Linked DNA regions of Homo sapiens: regions 1, 3 and 4 are each linked to region 2. Evidence: promoter capture Hi-C in human tissues and cell types (Jung and others, 2019). All regions are on one chromosome and are shown on one strand. Each heading gives the region's core, a stretch centred on a gene start or on the middle of the fragment in contact. The rest is flanking DNA. Distances are from core to core; before and after follow the strand shown. Region 1 holds the start of DCAF10 (DDB1 and CUL4 associated factor 10). Region 2 holds the start of POLR1E (RNA polymerase I subunit E). Region 3 overlaps SHB (SH2 domain containing adaptor protein B). Region 4 has its middle 23 kb from the start of SLC25A51.

Region 1 (3,605 bases), core at 102-2,601, 310 kb after region 2:
GGTCTCCAGAGAAGTAGAACCAATAGGAGATATAGATATAAGAGAACATTTAATATGGGAATTGGTTCATATCATTGTAGAGGAGTCCCATGATCTGCAGTCTGCAAGCTGGAGAACCAGGAAATCTGGTGGTGTAATTCAGTCTGAGTCTGAAGGTGTGAGAATCAGAGGAGCTAATGGTATAACTCCCGGTCCAAGACTGAAGGCCTGAAAACTGACGATGAGTCCCCAAGTCCAAAGCCCGCAGAACCGAGTTTTGATGTCTAAGGGCAGGAGATGGATGTACCAACTTAAGAGAAAGTTAAATCACCCTTCTGCCTTTTTGTTCCTTTTCAGTCTTTAATGAATAGGATGATGCCTGTCCACAATGGTGAGGGCAGATCTTCTATTGATTCAAATGCTAATCTGTCCTGGAAACACCCTCACAGGCACACACAGAAATAATGGTTTTCCAGGCTATCTGGGCATCTGTTAGCCCAGTCAAGTTGACCCAGAAAAGTAACTATCACCTATTTGCCATCTTTCATTTAAGCCCAGATACACAGACTGGCTATCTCAGCCATTCCTTGGGTAGCACATCCAAACCTGTTTCCTCTCAGTCTCTCCTTTGCCTTGTGACAAATAGGTTTTGGAAGAAGCTGCCTGTGGTCACCCTGAACTTGTTGTGCCTTTAAGAGTTGGGCATGCTGGCCAGGCGCGGTGGCTCATGCCTGTAATCCCAGCACTTCGGGAGGCCGAGGCGGGTGGATCACGAGGTTCAAGACCAGCCAGGCCAAGATGGTGAAACCCTATCTCTACTAAAAAATACAAAAAATTAGCCGGGCGTGGTGGTGGGCGCCTGTAATCCCAGCTGCTCGGGAGGCTGGGGCAGAGAATTGCTTGAACCCGGGAGACGGAGGTTGCAGTGAGCCGAGATCGCGCCACTGCACTCCAGCCTGGGCGACAGCGCGAGACTCCATCTCGGAAAAAAAAAAAAAAAAAAAGAGTGGCATGTCACCTATTGTGTGTGGCCTGCACGTAATGCACTAATTCTTAATCCCTCGCTGATCCCAGTGTAAAGTGGAGACACCAGTACATACTCAGCCTCACAGGACTGACTGGTCAGGCCACTCATCCCCAGGCACGCGGCCACCGGTCACTGACAACTACAGACCGACTCTGCCACCCAGATCAGGTGCCCAGATGCTCAGTCGCTCACACAGGTAACTACTCGCTCCCTACCTCCGTTCCCGGGACTGCGGCGCCCCAAACCCGGCGGTGTCTCAGCTTTCCCGGTCCCCGGCGGACGGTGGCCGAGGGGCGGCGCGGGTTTCCAGCCGGTGGGGTTAGGCCGCTGCACGCCGGAAGTGGCAGCTGAACAGGGGCACTGAGGTGTCGGCCGGCGGGGCAGTGGCCCGGAGCGGGGGGCGGGGGCGTTGATCATGTTTCCCTTTGGGCCCCATAGCCCTGGAGGGGACGGATCGGCCGGAGCCGGGGCTGAGGAGCCGACGCCCCACGAGGGGCAGGCAGCAGCCACCGGGCCGCCCTCGCCACTACATCCCGGGGCTGATGCGACCCATCCCCCTCCACCCGCCCGAAGCCCTCGCCGCCCCGGCGCCCCATCGCTGTCCCCGGCCCCGCGCTCCGGAGAGCTAGGGCTGCCTGGAGCTCCGGAGTCCTCAACTGCCTCCGCCCCGGGAGAGCCGTCACCTCCCTCCCCTCCGTGCCGGCGGCCCGGGCCAGACTGCAGGGCCAAGAGCCGGGGCCGACACGGCCTCGGCGCGGGCCTGGGCGGCCCTGGCGCTAGGCTGTTCGGGTGGCTGAAAGAGCGCAGCCTGGGCCGCGGGCTGTTCGTGGACCCGGCGCGGGACAATTTTCGCACCATGACTAGCCTCTACGGTTCCATCCACCCCGCGGACTCGGTGTACCTCAGCACCCGCACCCACGGCGCCGTCTTCAACCTCGAGTACTCGCCCGACGGGTAAGCGCGGCCCCTCGGAGGGCGGGCGCCCGCCTCCGCCCGGCTCTGCTGCCAGCGGACGGCCGTCCTGGGCTCGCTCCCCGCGCCCGGGCCGAGGTTAGCGAGGCCGTTTGGGGCCGCTGGCCTTCGTGCCTCCTGGCACTTTCTGAAGCGCATTCTCGCCCTTGGAATCCCCAGCCCAGCTTTTTGAGGCAGGCAGGCGGGGCCCCACTTGCTCGCCTTCAGGACTTGGGCTCTGTGAAGGAGAAATGCCCGAAGCTACACAGCGGACCTGTCAGAGCCAGCCCACAACTAGGGCTTTCTGGTACACAGTAGGTGCTCAGTAAATACATTTTGAATAAATGCCCGCTTTCTCCCCATCATCCTAGGCTCGCGTTTTCCTACCTAAACCTGTGTCGGGGTAGGAAAGCTGTAGATTCCTTGCACTCTGTACCTGAACTTGCCATGATGGGGCAAGTGCGTTCCTTTGCTCAAGGAAGATACAGTACTAAGACACTGTAGAGACGTGGCTCTCATGATTTGGGTCATTTGTGAAGTCCCCAGGCTAGACTACAGCCTTTTTCTTGGCTGATTAAATATTTATTGTATGGCTTTGCTTTAAAGGGAACTTTCCAAAATCGTATCTATTTAAAACTTTGTCTTGTCAGTACACAAGTCCGCCATCAAAAGAAAAAATGTGCACAGTTCCACCATGAGGTGACATAGTTAATGTAATTCTTACCCCACCAAGCCTCTCGGTTGCTAGTTGTTTACTCAGTTGTTCATTCATTCATTCTCTCATTCGGCGTATATTTGTTGAGCACTTGCTATGTTCCAAATGCAGGAGTAACCATGCTGAGCAAAACCAGCTAATGGCACTGTTTTCATTGAGCCTGGGACTTAATGGTTCAACTAGATAGTAGATAGCCTTACTAAATAATGCATAAAATATATTTGTTAATTGAGATAAAGTCTTGAAGGAATCTGTTATGGACACTGTGTTCACGGATTCCCTGAGGAAGTGGCACCTAAATGAAAATAAAAATGAGTACGAAATAAATTAGTCAAGATAGGGTTGGGAAAGGGATAGAAGTATTTCAGATGGAGATGATTGGTATGTCAAAGGTCGTAGAAGGGCAGCATATCATGTTACAGGAGGTGAAAAAAAATAGGTTTACAAAGCAAAAAATTTTACTGAAGAAAGACCTGAAGTTGCTAAGGAAGGAGCAAAGGAATAGAAACAGGAGTTACTGTGAGCAAGTAGACTCTATTCCATTTCAATGATGGAAGCGCTTCCTAATCACACGTGGTGCTGGGGTCTCTGGGGTCTCAACAGCAATTGGTTGGAGCATGTAGCAGTGGATGCACACCTGAATAAGGTGGAAAACTGGTGAGAGGAGAAACTATTTTGCTGAAACTTATTCATGGAACCTCGCAGCCTCCTTCCTTCAGCCAAGCCCTATTCCTAAAGTTTCCCTCAAAACACGAACAGTCTGTCCTCAAATATTCAGTTTCTCTCTTCATATCCCGGCCCCTCTCCTCCCAACCTCCTACCGATACTTTCAGGAATTCAGAAGCAGCTATTTCTACTTTTTGGATGTGGGATTTTAGGTGGGAGTATAATGAGAAGAACAGATTTTAGAGCTGTTAGAATAAGGGATATATT
Region 2 (4,164 bases), core at 697-3,196:
AAGTAAGTTTAGTGAGGAAACAATCAATGGGTGAGACAATCACACAATTAAGCTCTTCTTTCTTCATCCTTCTTTCTTCTTTCTTCTTCTTCCCTTTTCCTTTCCTGAACAATTCAATCCAAAATCATGAGGTGGGGTCAAGCAAGGTAGCCTTCTAAGGGAGGAAAGGCTATGAGAGCTAAATGCAACACATGATTCTTGACAGGACATTTTTGCTATAAAAACATGATTGGGCCAGCTGCAATGGCTCACGCCTGTAATCCCAGAACTTTGGGAGGCCAAGGTGGGAGGATCACTTGAGCCCAGGAGTCTGAGACCAGCCCTGGCAACACAGTGAGACCTAGTCTCTACAAAAAATTTTTTTAATTAAGAAAAAACAAAACAAAACTGAGTGTGGTGGCACACACTTGTATTCCCAGGTTGTGGTGAGAGGATCACTTGAGCCTGGAAGGTCAAGGCTGCAGTGAGCCCTGGTTGCAACACTGCACTCCAGCCTGGGTGACAGAGTGAGACCCTGTCTCAAAAAACAAACTAACAACAAACGTTGGGACAATGGGTGAACTTAAATGGGATGTGAGGATTACATGGTGGTAATGTACCAGTGCTAATTTCCTGATTCTTTTCTGTTTAATTTTTTTTTTTTTTTTTGTCGCCCAGGCTAGAGTGCAGTGGCACCATCACAGCTCACTGCAGCCTCTGCCTCCTAGGCTCAAGCAATCCTCCCACCTCAGCCTCCCGAGTAGCTGGGACGACACGCGTGCGCCACCACACATGGCTAATATTATTTTTTGTAGAGACAGGGTCTTGTTATGTTGCCCAGCCTGGTCTCAAACTCCTGGAATCAAGGGATAGAACTGCCTCTCCCTCCCAAAGTGCTGGGATTGCAGGCGTGAACCACTGCGCCCGGCAATTTGCTGATTCTGATGGCTGTGTTGTTATTTAGGGAATGTCTGTAGGAAATACTATAGTCTTCAGGGTTGAAAGGGTATCAGGTTGACAACTTACTCTAAATGGTTCAGGGCAAAAACATTTCTTGCAGTGTTTCTTTACGTTTGAGATTGGGTAATTAGAAAAGCGTGACAAGTGCTCAGGCAAAGGGGCATGCAGGCTTTAGGGTTATTCCTAGGATCCTGGGTGTTGGAGGCGGGTGTTGAGGGTGTGTGGAAGGAAAAGAGTCTTGAAAGAAGGTGATTTGGAAGACAGAGGGGAGTCAACCGGAGTTCTTGCCCTTCAATAGTACGCATCTTTGGGCAAAGGGGGCCTCGGCCAGCGTCCATGCTTAAAGGCCCTGCTTTCGCCTTCTTTCTGCTCTGAAAACTCCCCGTGCAGAAGAAGGGTTGAATCCGCAGTGAAAAAGGGACATGTCCATCAGCTCGGACTCCCTCTTCTATTCCAGTCCAGAATCTCCTGCCCAAAGGCTCCGGGGTTGGCTGGGCTTCTGTTCCATCACCTCAGTGTTGATTGGGCCACAGGTGTGCACGCCACAGCCCATGGCGGGGAGCTGTTTGTCGGACTGTGGACAAAGTTTGTACCTAGAGCTGGATGTCCACGTGGGTGGGTGGGAAGCCCTAGAGAGGGGCGGCTATTCGCCAGCGGCCACATTTAGTTGGGGCTCAAGCAGTTCCTGTCAGAGAATTCTAAATTTGAACTTGGTCCTTCAGGTCTTGGGAAGATGAGTTTGTCACGGTAGGAGAGAGAGACGACACTCTCTTTAGAAGGTGCTGAGCCGGAAGAAGGCTCATAGCAAGCTTAGGCTGAAGCCTTTGGCGCCTCGGGCTCTGGACCTACAAAACCCAGAGTGCACGCGAGCGCTGAGCCAATCAGGTGCTGCGCCTCGGCCAGTCAAGCGGGTGTGTGGCACCTTGTGGGCGGAGACCACGCCTCTCTACGCGGGGGGCGGGGACACGCGGCTCGCGCGCTGTGGGCGGTGCCCGGCGGGGCCACGCCTTTTCCGGCCCGCAGCGCGGCCTGGGCTCCCGCGTGTTTAAAAGTGCGCTTGTGGCTGCTGCTGTCTTAACTCCTGTGCTTGGCGGACAGACAGGCGAGATGGCGGCGGAGGTGTTGCCGAGTGCGAGGTGGCAGTATTGTGGGGCGCCCGACGGGAGCCAGAGAGCTGTACTGGGTAAAGACTGCGGAGCTGGAGCAGTGCTCCTCTAACCCTCTCCCCTTCCGTCTCGGTACCTCAGCTGTCCTCTCGCCCTCCGTTGGGCTTCTCCCCAGCGGGGCCGGGACCCCTCTAGTCTCCACCACTCCCCTGGGCTCTGTCAGGGCTCCCCTGTCCGTCTTTCTGTCACTACCTCCCAGCCAGATTGGGACATCCCACTCACCCGCTCCCCAGAGCTGTGTCCAGGACCCTGCTGACCCCCTCACCCACCAGGTCTCCCGCCTCCCCCATTTCCCTCTCTTCACTGGGCAGGGGTTCCTTCTGTCACTTTAGGTATGTACCAGGCCTCTGCTGTCAGCCTCCTTCCGCGAGACATTCCCTCCTGTCACAGCCCCTCCCCAGGGTTCTCCCACCTCCCTACCTCCTCTTCTCAGCTGGCCCCGGATCTCCTCCAGTTCCCTTTGGGTCAGGACCCGAGCTTCCTTGCCATCCCCATTCTGACACTCCCTCCCAGTGACAGTCTAGTCCCACCGTACATTGTGTGGTACATTGTGTGGCCTTCTGCTCTCATCTCATTCTTGGGCTGCACTCTTACAGTCCAGTTCTCCAACGGGAAGCTACAGAGTCCAGGCAACATGCGCTTTACCTTGTATGAGAACAAAGATTCCACCAACCCCAGGAAGAGGAATCAACGGATCCTGGTAAGTGAAGCAGTTGCCAGCTGTCTCCACTCTGCAGGGCTCAGAAGGCCCCTGGGAGTGGGTGGATGTGGGAGGGAGTGAGGGGAGAAAAAGGGGAGTAGTAGCAAATGGAGCTTTGAAGAACTCTGATGCCCAGCAGCCTGGGATGTGGGGACAGGCTCCATCTTTCATTCATTTGTTCTTTCAACAAGCATTTATGGAACCTGCCCCTCTGCATCCCTGTGCTGCAAGCTTCTAGGAAAACAGCCAAATCAGGCCTAGCCCCACTCAGAGTTCATACTCTAGAGCAGGGTTTCTCAACCTCAGGACTATTGACTTTTTGGGCCAATAATTCTTTGCTGTGGGGGCAGCATCCCTAGTCTCTACTCATTAGATGCCAGTAGCACCAGAGTGGATTTCCCTGGATTGAGAACCTCTGCTCTAGAGAGATGAGAACTGGCTGTGAGGGACACTTTTACACAAAGCTCTGAGGCCACGTGGGGAAGAGTACAGGGCAGAGTGAGCTCAGTGGGAGGAGAGGTCTCTGCCAGAATGCCTTCCTTGGTGAGGTCATGTTGGAGCTGAGCCTTGAAGGCTGGAATGAGGGTTTGGCAGTCAACGTTTGGTGTTTCGAGTGAAAAGGATAGTGAGGACAAATGCAGAGAAGCAGGAAAGCTTGCTTATGATTGGGGAGTGAATCAGCCATGGTCCTGAGAGTATACAAAGAACAGGCCAAAGAGAGATTGCTTACAGAATCACTTTGTTGCATACCTTTAAGTGCCAGAAGCCCAGGGCCTCTCTCTCAAGTCTTGTGGCAGAATTCCCCCAAGAGCTTTTCATACCATTTAGAAGCTAGCACCATCTGAGGCTTCTCTTCCAGAAGTCGTCTTGCTTCCCCTGCAGGGACACCCCATATTCCCTTAGAGATAGTGGGGCTGGATCATCTGCCAGAGATGAACTAGTTCTAATCCATTGTGAGTCTGGATTCAAAAGCCTCAGCAAATGTAGAAAAGAGAAATGATGCTTAATACCTTTCAACATTGGTTGTAAATGGAGTTTCCCCTCTCTGCATTTTAGGCAGCTGAAACAGATAGGCTCTCCTATGTGGGAAACAATTTTGGGACTGGAGCCCTCAAATGCAACACTTTGTGCAGGTAATGGCAGGGGAAGGGACAGTGGGAAGGGTGATGGGGTTGGGAGTGGTGGCAGCACTGGCACTGCTGTTTCCTGTCTGTTTTAAGGGTAGCAGGAGCCATCTAGAGAGGTTTACTAGGTGATCCCTGTGTTCCTATTAGACCCAGAGCCCTTCCCTGCACGTGTAGACGTTGCTGGAAAGGAAAGATAACTTGAATTTCCTAAAAACCTCATTCATTTGTAATC
Region 3 (3,985 bases), core at 405-2,904, 440 kb after region 2:
ATGGCTGAGAAGACCTTAAATGCTCCCTTGGTCCATGACTGGACTAACCTGTGGCCTCCCAAGGAAGCTGGGAGGGCTGGCATTATATGCAAGATACCCACTGCACAGATGAGAAGACTAAGGGTCTGAGGGAGAAGCAACTTGCCCAGTCACGATGCAAGGCTATCAGGGCTTCCCAAGCCAGGGGACCAGGATGTAAGTGCATCTCACTGTGTGACTGGTTTCTCCAGCTGTCTGAGGCGTGGGGCAGGGGGCATGGAGGCTCCTTCTAGCTGAGATGTTCTAATAGTCAAGGCAGCTGGGATAAAGGAGCTTAGGAGGCCACGTGGCCAACACCTGCATCCTGCCCACAGCTTCCAAAGCAGCCTTCACAGTGACAAGCCAAAGACACACACACCAAGTTATTGTGAACAAACGTCTCAATGTAAACGCTGCTGAGCAAAATGACGTGATTTACAACCAAATAATTAGACTTTCAATAGACGCATCAGCAGCGATTAGCCTACCCGAGACGCCAGGGCATTTCTCAAGCTCTAAGTTGGTGGCCCAGGGTGAAGGCCTTCAGTAAATCATGACAAAAAGCCATCTCTAGGCAGGAGAGCTGGCAGATGCCTCTCCTGGCGAACATGTAGAGGCATAAGGCTCGTTTTAGCACACAAAGCAGTAGGTATGTCAAAATGAACCCATTTTGGGCAATTTTTCTCATGAGAAAACCAACACATTATTAGACAAGAAGTTTTTAAATGATGAGCGCTCAGACTGAGGGAGTAAGCCTCCCATTACCAGGGGTGTGTAAGTGGGAAGGCAATGACACTTGGTGGGTGGATCCCGCTGGATGCCTTTTGTAGTCCCCCCTCAGGGTTCCCACCAGCCTCAGCCAAGTGCACGTGGAAACTGCAAGGAGGGCTGGACGCAGAAGCGGAGGGGGATGGTGAAATGCTGCCAAAGCTTCAGGAAAGGGAAACAGGGTCTAGGGCTTCTTTCTTTCCTTCCTCTCTTTCTCTTTCTCTCTTTTTTTTTTTTCTACCTCTAATTGAGGACTTTTCTAGGAACATGAAGGCCTGTGTGTCGGAAATTATTTTTCTCCACTCTTCAGCCCTGGGCGCTTCCCCAAAGGGAGGAAGTTCAAAGTCTGATCCCACTGATATCATTGGCTGGGCAAGTCCCCTCCCCCTGGGCCTCAGCGTCTCCCTCTGGAAAAGCTGGAGGGGATCCCTTCAGTGCTGAGTTCTCAAGTCAGTGACGGACATGCCAGTGTGGGTGGGAGCACCACAGCAGGAGGAACAAGGCAGGGCAGAATGGCTCCCCTCATGGAGGGAGACAGGTGGGTACACTGGCCACAGTGGATCCTGGGCTTGGGGACAGCAAAATGACAAAAGCAGGCTTCTCATGCCTGTGCCAACAGGATGGACAGAATCCAGGCCAAGGGTGATCTCTTCCTACTGAGGACAAGGCTATCTGAGCCCTTAGGCTCCTTAAAGCAGTGGCTCCTACCTGGGGCAATTTTGCACTCCCTCTTCCCTGGGGAATACTCGCAATGTCTTGGTACATAGGTGCTACTGGCATCTAAGTAAGAGGAGGCCAGGGACGCTGCTAAATACCCTACGACGCACAGCACAGCCCCCACAACAAAGAATAATGTAGCCCAGCTTCCCACAGTGCCTAGGCTAAAGCCACACCACTCGCTAGACGGCCAGTGCCTCAAATTCTGCATCCACAACATGGGAATAACCAGAGTCCACCCTTGCTGCTGTGGTGAGGGGCAGATGAGAACCTCCACATGAAGTGTGAACGTCTGACGAATCCCGGCTCGCCTGGCCCCTTATGTAAAGGTGTAAGACACAGAGCGGAATCTGCCAAATGGCTTGGTTCCAGAGGGCTCCAGGCTGTTTCCAAGGACAGGACCCCCTAGTCCCACCTGAGCAGCACATGGTGGGAGATGTACCACATCTGAGGAGACTCCAGAGCAGGACCATGCAGAGGCTGGGCCAAGGCAGCCTCGGGGGAAGCCCCAGCTGCCGAGGGGAGGACTTGGAGCGCACAATGGCTTTTATAGCCCAAAGGGGGCCAGCGCCCTGGGGTTGACCCAGGCAGGGCTGGAGAGGGGGGTGGGCCTTGGGGTGCCTGAGGATGGTGCTGTACGCAGCCCAGGCTCAGGGCCACCCAGACCTGTATCTGAGTCCCTGCCCTGAACTGTGCCTGGTCTGAGCTTCAGGTCCTCATCTGGGAAGTAGAGCTTTCACTGTTCACCCACAAGGGTAGTCTGAGGTCTGGACAGCAGGGAAGCAAGGCTCGCCAGGTGCGGAGGTGCCGCCGAGTATGCAGGATGTCGTTGGAGCCTGGTCACCTGGGTACAAATCTGCACTCTTTGGCAGGCCCCTCGGATAAGCATGACGTGAAACAGGGGGCTGGCACTAGATTCCAGCTTAATGCATTTTTAAATTTTTAAATGAAGAACAGTGCCTTTCAGAAAATACTGACGCCAGTGCAGGACTCAGGGTCCTGGCGTGGGTCTTGTTCTCATCTGCTGGGCAGGAGCCACTGCACCAGTGGCCGCCTGTCTGGTGTGTCTGGTGCACCTGGCTGGCTCTGTGCTGTCTGGGCTGAGCACTGAGCTAGGTTTCCCATACGTCTGCTCTGTCATTCACGGCTGCATTGGCAGCCCAGAAGCCATGGATGTGGCTGCAGGAGCGTCTCCTCCAGTTGGGCAGCCTGCCTGGCTGGGGTGGGATACCTGGGTTCTGGCCCAGCTCTGTGGCCGGATGACACGGGGCAAGGCGTTTACTGCCCTGAGATCGATTTCCTGAAACATCAAGTGTTCTTTCACCACAGTCTCTAAGGCACACTGTTGCACACAGGATCCACATGAAAAGAGAAAAGGAAGCTGGGCGTGGTGACTCATGCACTCCCAGCACTTTGGAAGGCCAATGCGGGAGAATTTCTTGAGCCTAGGAGTTTGTGAGACCAGCCTGGGCAACATCGTGAGACCTCATCTCTGTAGAAAATTTAAAAATTAGCCGGGCATGGTGGCACACGCTTGTAGTCCCGGCTACTTGGGAGGCTGAGGTGGGAGGATTGCTTGAGCCTGGCAGGCTGAGGCTGTAGTGAGTTGTGTTCACACCAATGCAGTCCAGCCTGGGCGACAGAGTGAGACCCTGTCTCAAAAAACAAAACAGAAAACGAACTAAACAGGAAACTGGTCATAGATGGTCAATGGCATTTATTAAGTGTCTACTGTGTGCACTGCTCTAAATGCAACATTTCTGAGGGAGACAAGACACCAACCAGATACTCTGAGATCATTTGGTTCCCTGTCATCATTTTACAGATGACACTGAGGCTCAGAGAAGGGCAGAGGTTTGCTCTCTTTCCGCAATACAGCCCCTGCCCCATGCCTCTATTGCGGAGGATTCTCTGGCAAGACCAGCAGACTAGAGTCTGCAGTAATGGGGTGTGACAAGCTGGGGTGGGGGATGTGGCAGGGGGAGGGGACATGCAGGGAGGGGAGAGGGGAAGGAAGCAGCAATGCCCCCTGCTCCTCATTTCTCATCCCGAGTCACCCCATGGACCTTTGCTCTTGCTAAAGCACAGTGCTCACCCTCACCAGTCTCTTCCTGGCCCACCCTGGTGGGGGCCTCCTCACCAACTGACCAAGGGTGTTCACCAGCACAGCAATGAAGCGGACTCACTATCCACAAAGCACCTTATCTAACTTAGTTTTATTTAAGAAAAAAAGTAAAGATGAGAAACTCAACAATCCTTATCAAAACCCCAATGTCATTCTTCACAGCAAAAGAAGAAACAATCCTAAAATTCATGTGGAACCATAAAAGACCCTGAGTAACCATAAAAGACCCTGAGTAACCAAAACAATGCTGAAGAAGAAAAGAAAGTTGGGGGCATCACACTTCCTGATTTGAAATTATATTACAAAGCTATAGTAATCAAAACAGTATGATACTGGCATACAAACAGACACATAGAC
Region 4 (3,845 bases), core at 245-2,744, 390 kb after region 2:
AACTTTGCGTGGGTTGTAGAGAGTAGAGTTGCTTTTGAAATCAGAAAGTCAGTGCAGTGTTATAGTATTGATGGGTTCTACTTCTGATCTTAATCACCGTGAAAAAAATCAAGGCCTGTGGAAATTTTGGCATTCCATGTAGACTTTGAGTAACATCTGCACATAAAGGACCAGAAGAAATGCTGAGGATTAAAGCTGAGTATGAAGGGGTGGCAGTCGTACTGTATTTGTGGCAGTGGCAGGCAGAAGCAATGGTTTGGGATCAGTGATGTTTGGGAACACTACACATCCAGTTATCTATTGTCCTCCCCTCACACCAGACTGAGGAGTTCAGGATGTGTGGTCTTCTCTGCGACTACTCAGTGGTCTCGGCTATTCAACCATACTTTCTCCAGAAGGATCAGCTCAGTTTGCTACTCAGATATTTGGATTAAACAACCATTTATTATGGGGCAAACTGCAAGCAAGCACTTTGAACACATGGATTTTTTGGAAGAAAGGTGACAAGAAAATCAGAGAAAACATCATTGCATTTTTAGGGGGAAAACTACAAATTTCTAATTTAGCTGCAGAAAAAATAATTAGAGAACACAAATAAAATGTACTAGTGAATACATGCTTCTCTAGACCCAAACAAAAACTATTTGCAACGTAATTAAAACAGGTTAAGTGCTGTGAAAAATAGAAACATGGTGACATAGAAGAGCCTGACGGGGGAACCTAACCGAGTCCTGAGAGTGTAAGCCAGCTTCCCCAAGGAAGTGACACTTCAACCGAGATCTGAAGGACAGCAGTCTATAAATGAAGTAGAGAAAGGCAGTGCTGAGGGCAGAGGGCACCTGCATGGGCAGAGGCTGGGAGCAAGATGAGTACAGCGTGCCCCAAGTAATCAGGAAGTGCCAGTGGCTGGAGTGCAGAGACAGCAGCGCAGTTTTAGCTAGAGATGAGAGTAAGGGAGGCAAGGGCTGGATCATCCTGTCTCCTGTAGGCCACAGCAAGATGTTTGGTCTTTATGGCAGAGGAAAAGCATTTATTGAAGTGACATTTTAAAAAATTACTGATGGCCGGGCACGGCGGCTCACGCCTGTAATCCCAGCACTTTGGGAGGCTGAGGCAGGTGGATCACTTAAGGTCAGGAGTTTGAGACCAGCCTGGCGCAAAACTGTCTCTACTGAAAAAATACGAAATTTAGCCGGGTGTGATGGCGGATGCCTGCAATCCCAGCTACTCCGGAGGCTGAGGCAGGAGAGTCGCCTGAACACAGGAGGCAGAGGGTGCAGTGAGCCAAGATTTCACCACTGCACTCCAGCCTGGCGACAGAGACCACGTCTCAAAAAAAAAAAAAAAAATTATTGACAATATGAAGAATAGATTGAAGGGAGATAGGAACTGAGATAAATCCTATTTTACCTTCGATTTCTACTTTAAAATCACATATACTCATTTGGACAAAAAATTTCCTAGTTGGGAACGTCAGATAAATAGATTTAAGGCAGCCGGCGCGGTGGCTCACGCCTATAATCCCAGCACTTTGGGAGGCCGAGGTGGGCAGATCACCTGAGGTTAGGAGTTTGAGACCAGCCTGACCAACATGGAGAAACCCCATCTCTACTAAAAATACAAAATTAGCCAGGCGTGGTGGCGCATGCCTGTAATCCCAGCTACTTGGGAGGCGGAGGCAGGAGAATCACTTGAACCCAGAGGTCGGAGGTTGCGGTGAGCCGAGATCACGCCATTGCATTCCAGCCTGGTCACAAGAGCGAAACCCCGTCTCTAAATAAAAAAGTAAATAAATAAATAAAAAGATTTAAGATGGGAACCAGTCTCTTGGGGATTGGGAGTGCTCTGTAGCTATGCAGAGATCCCCCAGGGCTGTTCCTGGTCACACCTACTCCTCACTCTGGAGGTCTAGAACTCTACAGTGGCTGCTATGGGTGGGTTAAAAGATTTCATCAGATGATGATTAAACACCCTTTTTATCAAATCTAAATGTACAAGTTCAGGATATTACACTTATTCTTTATGATGGATTTCAATCCAAAACAGGACTTTTAGAAGCAACTGCTCCTTTACCTTGCTGTCCTTATCAGGCAACCTCAATGATCTCTAAAGCCAGGAAACAACCTAAAACTTAACATGCAAATTCACAATGTGGCTAAAACTTCACACTCTCCTAACCAATGAGCTACAACAGAAAGGAGCAGCTCTGAAGGCAAAAGTAGATATAAAAAAAAAAAAAAAATGAAAAGCACAAACATCCAGACCATGTAACTTGGGAGTAAACATTGCATGAGGCTACTCTATTACAACAGAAAGTACTGATAAGCTAAACCAAGAAAGTTTAAACTCAGTAGAGAAGTGTATTAAATATGAGGAAGACCTTTAAGAAATAAAATGTGGCCAGGCACAGTAGCTCACGCCTGTAATCCCAGACTTTTGGGAGGCCAAGGTGGGCAGATTGCTCGAGCCCAGGAGTTCAAGACCAGCCTGGGCAACATGATGAAAATCTCTACAAAAATTAGCTGGGCTTGGTGGCACGTACCTGTAGTCCCAGCTACTCAGGAGGCTGAGGCGGAAGGATCGCTTGAGCCCAGGAAGTCAAGGCTATAGTGAGCCATGATCATGCCACTACACTCCAGCCCAGGCAATAGAAACCCTGTCAAACAAACAAACAAAAAGCTTTGCAGTTAAACTACCTGGAAAATAAAACTTATATGAAACCCCTCTTGACGAAATAAGATGGATAGACAAAGGAATGTTTTACCTGCAACATCCCCAGGTTAAGTTGCTAAAAGTCAAGGTAGTGTGCTAAATGTTTTCTGAATAAAAAGACTAACAGATCAATCTATCACTACCACAAAAAAGGAACGTGCCAGTAACAAGCAACTACTCAAGCATAAGAGAAGACCAAAAAGAGTGGGCTTAAAAAACAAACTTTATTCCAAATTATCAAAAAAAAAGTGTTAACTCTGAAACATTTAACAGATTTCATTTAAACTCATAGGGTCATAAAACTCAAACTATCAAACAAAAATAGCATTGTGCACTTAACCACTTTCAATAATGAACCTTCAAGAGGAAACATTTAGAGACTCCCACACAATTTGGGAGCCAATAGGCAACACATATTTAATATTAAGCAAAGACAGCATTAAAAACTAAAAATCCTCAAATTTCAAGAGAATACCTGTTCAAGTCTTTGATATACATTTGCACATGAGAAAAGAAATATTTTAATTTAAAAGAGACCAAGTCTGAGTGCTTATCCTTTCTTCAAATGTAATCTCCTGTCCACCCTTCATTTTATGACTGCATACGCCTCACTCTACTTCATCTACACTGAACCAGTGTTCGTTCAACATGATTGGCTTCACTCGAAGCCCTCTAGATCCCATTTCATATATCCCATCGACCACCATTATTCCCTTACATGTTTGCACAGCCTTATACTGAGCATTACATTGTAACCAAGCTTGGGAATTTCAGGTATCCAAAGGTAATTATATACACAAACGCTTCTGTTTTATTGCACAGTTCACAATATAGCTGGTGATTACACAACCAACCATGTTAAGATGAATATCGACTATTTAGACAAATACATCGATTTTGTCCCCAACCACAAATGAAACAAGAAAGACACACATATTCGCCACCATATCAAGGTTGTGTTTACTCTGTGGTGCAGTCCTGAGGGCTCATACCACTCTCAGTGTGTTCAATACGGAATCCATAACATTTCTGGTGGCATCACACATGAAGTATAGGACACAAGACCATAAGTGTCCTGCGCTCATGAGCCATTTGTGCCACAGACGTAACAGAAAGGCCACTTTTAAAGCTTT

Evidence for each region. The method cuts DNA at HindIII sites, captures the fragments that hold promoters and counts their contacts. A contact is called where the count stands out against the background at its distance.
Region 1: a contact is called between the fragment with the promoter of DCAF10 here and the fragment with the promoter of POLR1E in region 2, in 1 of the 25 tissues and cell types used here (mesenchymal stem cells).
Region 3: a contact is called between a fragment that was not itself captured here and the fragment with the promoter of POLR1E in region 2, in 1 of the 25 tissues and cell types used here (lymphoblastoid cells).
Region 4: a contact is called between a fragment that was not itself captured here and the fragment with the promoter of POLR1E in region 2, in 1 of the 25 tissues and cell types used here (dorsolateral prefrontal cortex).

The regions. Positions count from the first base shown.
Region 1 is chr9:37,799,446-37,803,050 of GRCh38, forward strand. It overlaps DCAF10 (DDB1 and CUL4 associated factor 10), which reads left to right and starts at 1,352. Exons shown (of 7, transcript NM_024345.5): 1 at 1,352-1,960. The coding sequence starts at 1,422. It overlaps LOC105376037 (a long non-coding RNA gene), which reads right to left and starts at 1,446. Exons shown (of 3, transcript XR_929599.3): 1 at 1,222-1,446. RefSeq lists enhancers at 881-1,482, 2,434-2,483 and silencers at 1,324-1,843, 2,064-2,123. The HindIII fragment of the contact is 16,578 bases long and covers 1-3,605 here.
Region 2 is chr9:37,484,002-37,488,165 of GRCh38, forward strand. It overlaps POLR1E (RNA polymerase I subunit E), which reads left to right and starts at 1,947. Exons shown (of 12, transcript NM_022490.4): 1 at 1,947-2,122; 2 at 2,702-2,805; 3 at 3,862-3,938. The coding sequence starts at 2,047. RefSeq lists an enhancer at 1,412-2,003 and a silencer at 1,745-2,074. The HindIII fragment of the contact is 4,331 bases long and covers 1-3,247 here.
Region 3 is chr9:37,926,940-37,930,924 of GRCh38, forward strand. All of the region lies in intron 5 of SHB (SH2 domain containing adaptor protein B), which reads right to left. Among named protein-coding and RNA genes, the nearest start is that of SLC25A51, 25 kb to the left of the region's middle. The HindIII fragment of the contact is 4,083 bases long and covers 1-3,696 here.
Region 4 is chr9:37,878,976-37,882,820 of GRCh38, forward strand. It overlaps a transcript of SLC25A51 not described here and the pseudogene PAICSP1. Among named protein-coding and RNA genes, the nearest start is that of SLC25A51, 23 kb to the right of the region's middle. The HindIII fragment of the contact is 3,161 bases long and covers 1-3,075 here.